Regions from separate parts of the Homo sapiens genome. Here region 1 is linked to region 2. The links are contacts of gene promoters, found by promoter capture Hi-C in human tissues and cell types (Jung and others, 2019). All regions are on one chromosome and are shown on one strand. The core of a region is centred on a gene start or on the middle of the fragment in contact, and the rest is flanking DNA. Distances in the headings are between cores, read along the strand shown.

What was found. The method cuts DNA at HindIII sites, captures the fragments that hold promoters and counts their contacts. A contact is called where the count stands out against the background at its distance.
Region 1: a contact is called between a fragment that was not itself captured here and the fragment with the promoter of COIL in region 2, in 1 of the 25 tissues and cell types used here (spleen).

Annotation. Positions count from the first base shown.
Region 1 is chr17:57,852,952-57,856,548 of GRCh38, forward strand. No RefSeq gene overlaps it. Among named protein-coding and RNA genes, the nearest start is that of MRPS23, 4.7 kb to the left of the region's middle. The HindIII fragment of the contact is 4,394 bases long and covers 1-3,591 here.
Region 2 is chr17:56,959,079-56,962,546 of GRCh38, forward strand. It overlaps COIL (coilin), which reads right to left and starts at 1,972. Exons shown (of 7, transcript NM_004645.3): 1 at 1,697-1,972. The coding sequence starts at 1,941. It overlaps LOC105371836 (a long non-coding RNA gene), which reads left to right and starts at 2,070. Exons shown (of 4, transcript XR_934875.4): 1 at 2,070-2,334. RefSeq lists a silencer at 1,574-1,683 and enhancers at 1,810-2,104, 1,854-1,993, 2,004-2,053. The HindIII fragment of the contact is 17,787 bases long and covers 1-3,468 here.

The sequences.
Region 1 (3,597 bases), core at 145-2,644, 890 kb after region 2:
TAATAATAATAATAATCTGGATGGCAGTGTCAACTATCTTCGTGGCTTGTTGCAAAAGTAAAAGAGATCATTCATGTAAAGCACTAATCACGGCACCTGGGACATAGTGAGTGCCTGTGAGCAGCAACAAGCCTGATGGCTGTAACAGCAACACGATTGCTGTTGTGCTGTGTCATCCACCCATTGCCACCTGGACTGCAGCATTTTGATAATATTTCATAGATTGCCTTACTGTTTTACTTTCTTGTTAGATGATCCGTTCGTTCCAGAAGCATATAAACACCTACCTGACTATTCTGAGTCTTAGAGAATCCAACGGTCCAGTAGGGAAGACAGAGAGGTAAATACATAAATATTAAGTTATGTGCTGAATAGCTTGTTGATTGTATGAAGTTTGCTAGGCCTGCCCTAACACCACTTGCACACAAAGTGGGTGGCTTAAACACAGATTTATTTTCTCCCTATTCTGGAGGCCAGAAGTCCAAGATCAAGGTGTCTGCAAGTTTAGTTTATTCTGCACTTGGCTAGTTTCTCCTTGCCTTGGAGACAGCTTTCTTCTCCCACGTCTTCACATGGTCTTTCCTCTGTGTGGGAAGGTTTTGTCCTAATCTCTTCTTATGAGGACACCAGTCTTATTGGATTAGGGCCCACCCTACTGACTTCATTTTAACTTAATTACCTCTTTAAAGACTACCTCCTATTATAGTCACATTCTGAGGTACTGGAGTTAGGACCTCAACATATGATTTTTGGGGAGACACAGCTCAGCCCCTAACATAGATCAGTAAGTGCTGAATAGTTCCCATTTGCCCAAGCAGTTCCACACCCACTCTCTGCCGTCCTTCGCCCTGTTCTGTGCCTCGGGAGGCTGGCTTCTGTGGCCTGCATCCACCAGCTCCTTGCCCTCTGCTTCTGGCTGGATTCCAGTTGGTACTGCCAGCGGGCTCCCTCCTGGAACATAAAGTTCTAGAACATAAAATCACAGCTCTCTCACCAGGTTCCAGCCACCGTCCCTCTCCTGCTCCTTCAAGCCTAGACGTAGTTGGCAAGCTGTACCCCTCTGTTATTAGCCACGGGGTCTAGGCCATCCCTTGTGGCTTCCCATCACTCTGCCCACATCTTTGTGACAATGCCCGTATTTAAATAGTGCGTGGAGGTCAGGCGTGATGGCTCATGCCTGTAATCCCAACACTTTGGGAGGCCAAGGCGGGTGGACCACTTGAGGTCAGGAGTTCGAGACCAGCCTGGCCAACATGGCGAAACCTCGTCTCTACTAAAAATAAAATAAAAAATAAAAAATAAAAAAAATTAGGCGGGTGTCATGGCACACACCTGTAATCCCAGCTACTTGGGAGGCTGAGGCAGGAGAATCACTTGAACCCAGGAAGCGGAGGTTGCAGTGAGCTGAGATTGCACCACTGCACTCCACCCTGAGTAACAGAGCAAGACTCCGTCTCAAAAATAAATAAATAAATATTGTGTGGGAATTTGTCAGACAAAATGAGGAAGAGCATCATCCCCAGTAGTGGAACAGCTTTGGTAAGTGAAACTCCCAGCACACTGATGAAATCATGAATGCTGCTACTCACCTATGACAGCTAAAATCAGGGAGCAATTAGCTTTAAAGGGAGGAAAGCAATACAGTATATTCAATACACAGTTTAAGAATTATGTCAGGCCAGCTGTGGAGGATCATGTCTGTAATCCCAGCACTTTGGGAGGCCAAGGCGGGAGGATGACTTGAGGCCAGGAGTTTGAGACTAGCCTGGCCAACATAGCGAGACCTTGTCTCTACAAAAAAAAAAAAAAAAAAAAAAAAAAAAAGAAGAAGAAAAGAAGAGAAAGAAAAAAGTTAGCCAGTGCAGTGGCACAAGCTGGTAGTGCTAGCTACTCATGAGGCTGAGACAAGAAGATTGCTTGCGCCCAGGAGTTCGCAGCTGCAGTGAACTATGATCGTGCCACTGCACCCCAACCTGTGTGACAAAGTGAGCCCTTTTCTCTAAAAAAAGAGAGAGAGGATTATATCAGGATCCGTTAAAAAAAAAAGAATTGTAGGCTTCCTGAGTCTGAGGACCAGGAGGATGAAGGGCAGGGAGGGCTATTAAAGGAGGAGGCAGCCAGGCACAGCTGCTCACGCCTGTAATCCCAGCACTTTGGAAGGCCGGGGTGGGTGGATCACTTGAGGTCAGGAGTTCGAGACCAGCCTGGCCAACGTGATGAAACCCCGTCTCTACTACAAATTTAAAAATTAGCCAGGCATGGTGGTTGGCACCTACAATCCTAGCTACTCGCTACTTGGAAGGCTGAGCCAAGAGAATTGCTTGAACCCAGGAGGCGGAGGTTGCAGTGAACTGAGATCGTGCCACTGCATTCCAGTTGGGGCGACAGAGCAAGACTCCATCTCAAAAAAAAAAAAAAAGGGGGGGGGGAGTCAGAGTACCTTCTCTTTCCTTCCGGCTGTTGGGCTTGTGCCCCTCTCCTGAGAGCTCCCCTTCAGACCCCCTTCCTAGGCTTCAAGGAACTGTCAAGAATCAGTTCAGGTGGAAAAGCTTTTCAGCCCCCAGCACACACTCGGTAAGATCGGGTGAGTGCCCAGACCTGCTCCCTCCCTTCCTATGCTTATCTCTTTCAGGGCTATGTCTGTGTTGTAACTCTGTTTACCTGTCTGAGTCTGGCTACAGGGGCCTTTTTGAGGGCAGGAACTAGGACTTTTAGCTCTGCCTCCCCACACCCGGCCTGGTGCTTGGCCCACAGCTCTCAGAGTTTTCCAGTGAACAGCATGGATAAATAAAGCCAAGTTAGGACAAATGAGGATGCTGTCATCTCAGCCTTCCCTTCACTGCCTGTGCATACCCAGCCCTCCCTCTCTCCCAGGCCCAGCTTTCCTTTGAGGCCTTCCCCAGATACACAGATAGGGAGAGAGCTGTGGGTGAATGGAAATAATCCCCTACCTCACCATTCACTTCACATCGTGAGCATTTCCGGTCTGGCTGTCCTCTGTGCCTCACTGACAGATAGTTCTCTTTTACAGTCCTCTGGGCCTCAGCTTCATTTGTAAAGTGGGGATAATCATAGCACCTAGCAGAGGGTTTGTAGTGAGGCACCAGTGGGTTCATACCTGCTAAGTGTTTAAAACAGTGCCCGGTATATGGTAACTACTCAATAAATAGAGTGATGGTAATTTCGGACTACGCTTTAGAGCAACAGTGTCCTTCAATTAAATCTCACCTGAGGCTGGCTGCCATGACTCATGCCTGTAATCCAGCACTTTGGGAGGCCGAGGTGGAAGGATCGATTGAGCCCAGGAGTTTGAGAGCAGCCTGAGCAATACAGAGAGACCTTGTCTCTATTAAAAATCAAAAAATTAGCCAGGCGTGGTAGTATGTGCCTGTAGTCCCAACTACTCGGGAGGCTGAGGTGGGAGGATCGCTTGAGCCCTGGAAGTCGAGGCTGCAGTGGGCTATGATTGTGGCACTGCACTCCAGCCTGGGTGACAGAGCTGAGACTCTCTATAAAAAAAAAAAAAAAAAAAAAAAAACCTTACCTAACAACATACAAGCTACTATTTTCCTTTCCTCTTGCCTTTCGTTTTTTTTT
Region 2 (3,468 bases), core at 722-3,221:
TTACGCCTGTAATCCCAGTGCTTTGGGGGGCTGAGGTGAGAGGACAGCTTGAGCCCAGGGATTCGAGACCAGCCTGGGCAACATGGCGAAACCCTGTCTCTACAACAAATACAAAAATTAGCCAGGCGTGGTTGCCTGGCCTGAAGTCCCAACTACTCGGGAGGCTGAGGTGGGAGGATTGCCTGTGCCCAGGAAGTCAAGGTTACAGCAAGCTATGATCGTACCACTGCACTCCAGCCTGGGCATGGGAAACCCAGTCTCTTTATTTAAAAAAGAAAAAAAAAAGTCTGAATAAATCAGTCCAAGATATGAATCCAAACTGGAATGATCAGATACCATCATCTTACTGTGGCAACTCAACCACATTTCAGCAATTCACACTACAATTGCTCCTGGATACTCATCTCATTATCATTTTTTTAACTTCCAAAAGCATATTTAAGATTATTTTGTGTTTCCCAATTTACAGCCCAAAAGGACTCAAGACACTTATTTGAGAGAATCCCAAAATGTCTGGGTGAGACACAAAATGATACGCCACCAGAAGTCTCAGGGGACACTGGGCACATGAGAACTAAGGCTGGACAACAGCAGGTTATGAAGAAAACACAACGATTCCCCTTTGTCAGCTTCCTGCACCTGACCCTGAAGGCCGCCATGGGTAAGGCCGGGTCTCCGGCACATCTGCACCATGGGCACGCAACAGAGTCGCACAGTGCCTAGCTAAGCGCGGATGTGCTAAATCAAGGCTGAAAGAAAGCCTGGCCCTGCCCTTAGGCATCAGGGATTTTCCAAGTTTGATTCTCCTGTCATCAGAAGCATCCCGGGAAGGATGCTCGTTACACTGCAGATTCCAGCCAGGCGCGGAGGCTCACGCCTGTAATCCCAGCACTTTGGGAAGCCGGGAGGATCACTTAACGTCAGGAGTTCAAGACCAGCCTGGCCAACACGGTGAAACCCCGTCTCTACTAAAAATACAAACAAACAAACAAAAAATTAGCCGGGCATGGTGGCGCCCGCCTGTAAGCCCAGCTACTCGGGAGGCTGAGGTGGGAGGATCGATTGAACCCGGGAGGTGGAGGCTGCAGTGAGCTGAGATCGCGCCACTGCACTCCAGCCTGGGTGACAGAATGAGACTCAGTCTCAAAAATAAAAATAATAGGGGCAGGATGCGGTGGTGCACGCCTGCAATCCCAGCACTTTGAGAGGCCGATGCAAGCGGATCAACTGAGGTCAGGAGTTCGAGACCACCTTGACCAATATGGTGAAACCCCATCTCTACTAAAAATACAAAAATTAGCCGGGCGTGGTGGCGGACGCCTGTAGTCCCAGCTACTCGGGAGGCTGAGGCAGGAAAATTGCTTGAACCCGGGAGGTGGAGGTTGCAGTGAACCGAGATCGCGCCACTGTACTCCAGCCTGGGTGACAAAGCAGGACTCCGTCTCAAAAAAAAAAAAATAATAATAAAAAATAATAATAAAATGCAGATTCCTGAGCCCCAAAGTTGACTACACCAATCAGGATCTCCGGGGTTCGCGAACGTGCATTTTTACAGCCCCACCCCCCTCCAACCCTCGTCCCCTTCCCCATCCCCCATCCCCTCCACTACCAGGTCTAGCGGCTTCAGGCCCGGGCGTGCGCAGGCGCGTCCCCCGCCCGCCGCCCACCCGGCCGTCCCGCTCCCTGCGCCGCGCACCTGAGGCAGTCGTTGTCTCTCACAAGGCGCGCGCTCTCGGCGGGGGGCAAGAGCCCCCCCTCCAGGTAGAGGCCTAGGAAGGCCCCAGAACTGAAGCCGAAGCGCTGGCGGATGAGACTAATGAGATCTGTGACGACTCGGCATCTGTTCAAGTCGACCAGAAGCCAGAAGGCCGTACAGTGCGGGGTAGCTGGCGGCGGGTAATCAAATTGAAGCCGTAGCCTAACCGTCTCGGAAGCTGCCATCTTGCTTGGTGCTCAACGGAAGCCGAGAGATACCACGGGGCCACCGAGAGGCGTGCTCGGGCGGCTCGCCCCCGCCGGAGCCTTTGGCGTGTGCCACCTAGTGGTGAAACCTGGCTACTACAGGCTGCGTCTAGGCGAGAACTCGGAGCGTGGTTGATTTCATTCAATTTTGTTCACGGCAGGGCTGAGGAAGGGAATAAGTGAAATGCCTTTATTACATTTCTACTGGGCGCTATGTAGGGTCTCCTAATTAAGGCAACTCTCTGGATAAATAACATTTCTCCTCAGCAGTAGTCTTCTAAGATATTTGCTCATCGACGTGAAAGATTTTTATAAAACAATCCTAACACATTTCGCTGACAAAATTTTTCATCATGATGAGTTGAAAAAGATGTAAGTCCTAGTGTGTTCTCAATGTTGAAATTTTGAAATAACACTGTTAATCATTCTTCCAAATGTATCCAGTGGAATATAAATACCTTAGCCTTTTAATACCCACCACCAAACAAAAATGTCCTTGCATTTCTCACCAGATAAATAAATCAGTATTTACATTATTTCTTCTATTTTTTGAACTAGAATTTACATTTCTCCACATAATATATATTAACTCCTTTAATTTTCATAACAAAAGTTAGGAATTATGAACTGTTATCCTTATTTAGAGGATTTAAAAAAAACAAGGTTCAGAGAGTTTAAGAAGTAACTAGAGGCCAGGAGCAGTGGCTGACGCCTGTAATCCCAGCACTTTGAGAGGCCAAGGTGGGCGGATCACTTGAGACCAGGAGTCTGAGACCACCCTGGCCAAAATGGTGAAACCCCAACTCTACTAAAAATATAAAGATTAGCCGGGTGTGGTGGCATGTGCCTATAATTCCAGCTACTCGGGAGACTGAAGCAGTAGAATCGCTTGAACCCAAGAGGTGGAGGTTGCAGTGAGTCAGGATCGTGCCACTGCACTCCAGCCTGGGCAATAGAGCAAGATTCTGTCTTAAAAAAAAAAAAAGGAGTAACTTCCCCAAGTTCACTAGACTAGTTAAGTTGTAGATACCAGGGAGTCAGTAGATGAATTGAAAACAAAATTTTTTAACTGAAAGTAAGGGTTTTTGGATTTTCTTTTTTTAGAGTCTTGCTCTGTCACCTAGGCTGGAGTGCCGTGGTGCACTCTGCCTCCCGGGTTCAAGTGACTTCCCACCTCAGCCTTCCTAGTAGCTGGAACCACAGGTGTGAGCCACCAAGCCCAGCTAATTTTTGTATTTTTTGTAGAGATAGGGTTTTTCCATGGTGGCCAGGCTGGTCTCGAATTCCTGAATTCCAGCAATCTGCCTGCCTTGGCCTCCCAAAGTGGTGGGATTACAGGCATGAGCCACCACCTCCGACTAAAATCAAGTTTATTAGAGAATTAAAGGAATAAAAGAATGACTACTCCATAGACAGAGCAGCGAGCCCATACTATAAGTATACTCAGTCAAGTATACTTATAGTTACTTCTTGACTGTATGCTAAACAAAGGATGGATTATTCATG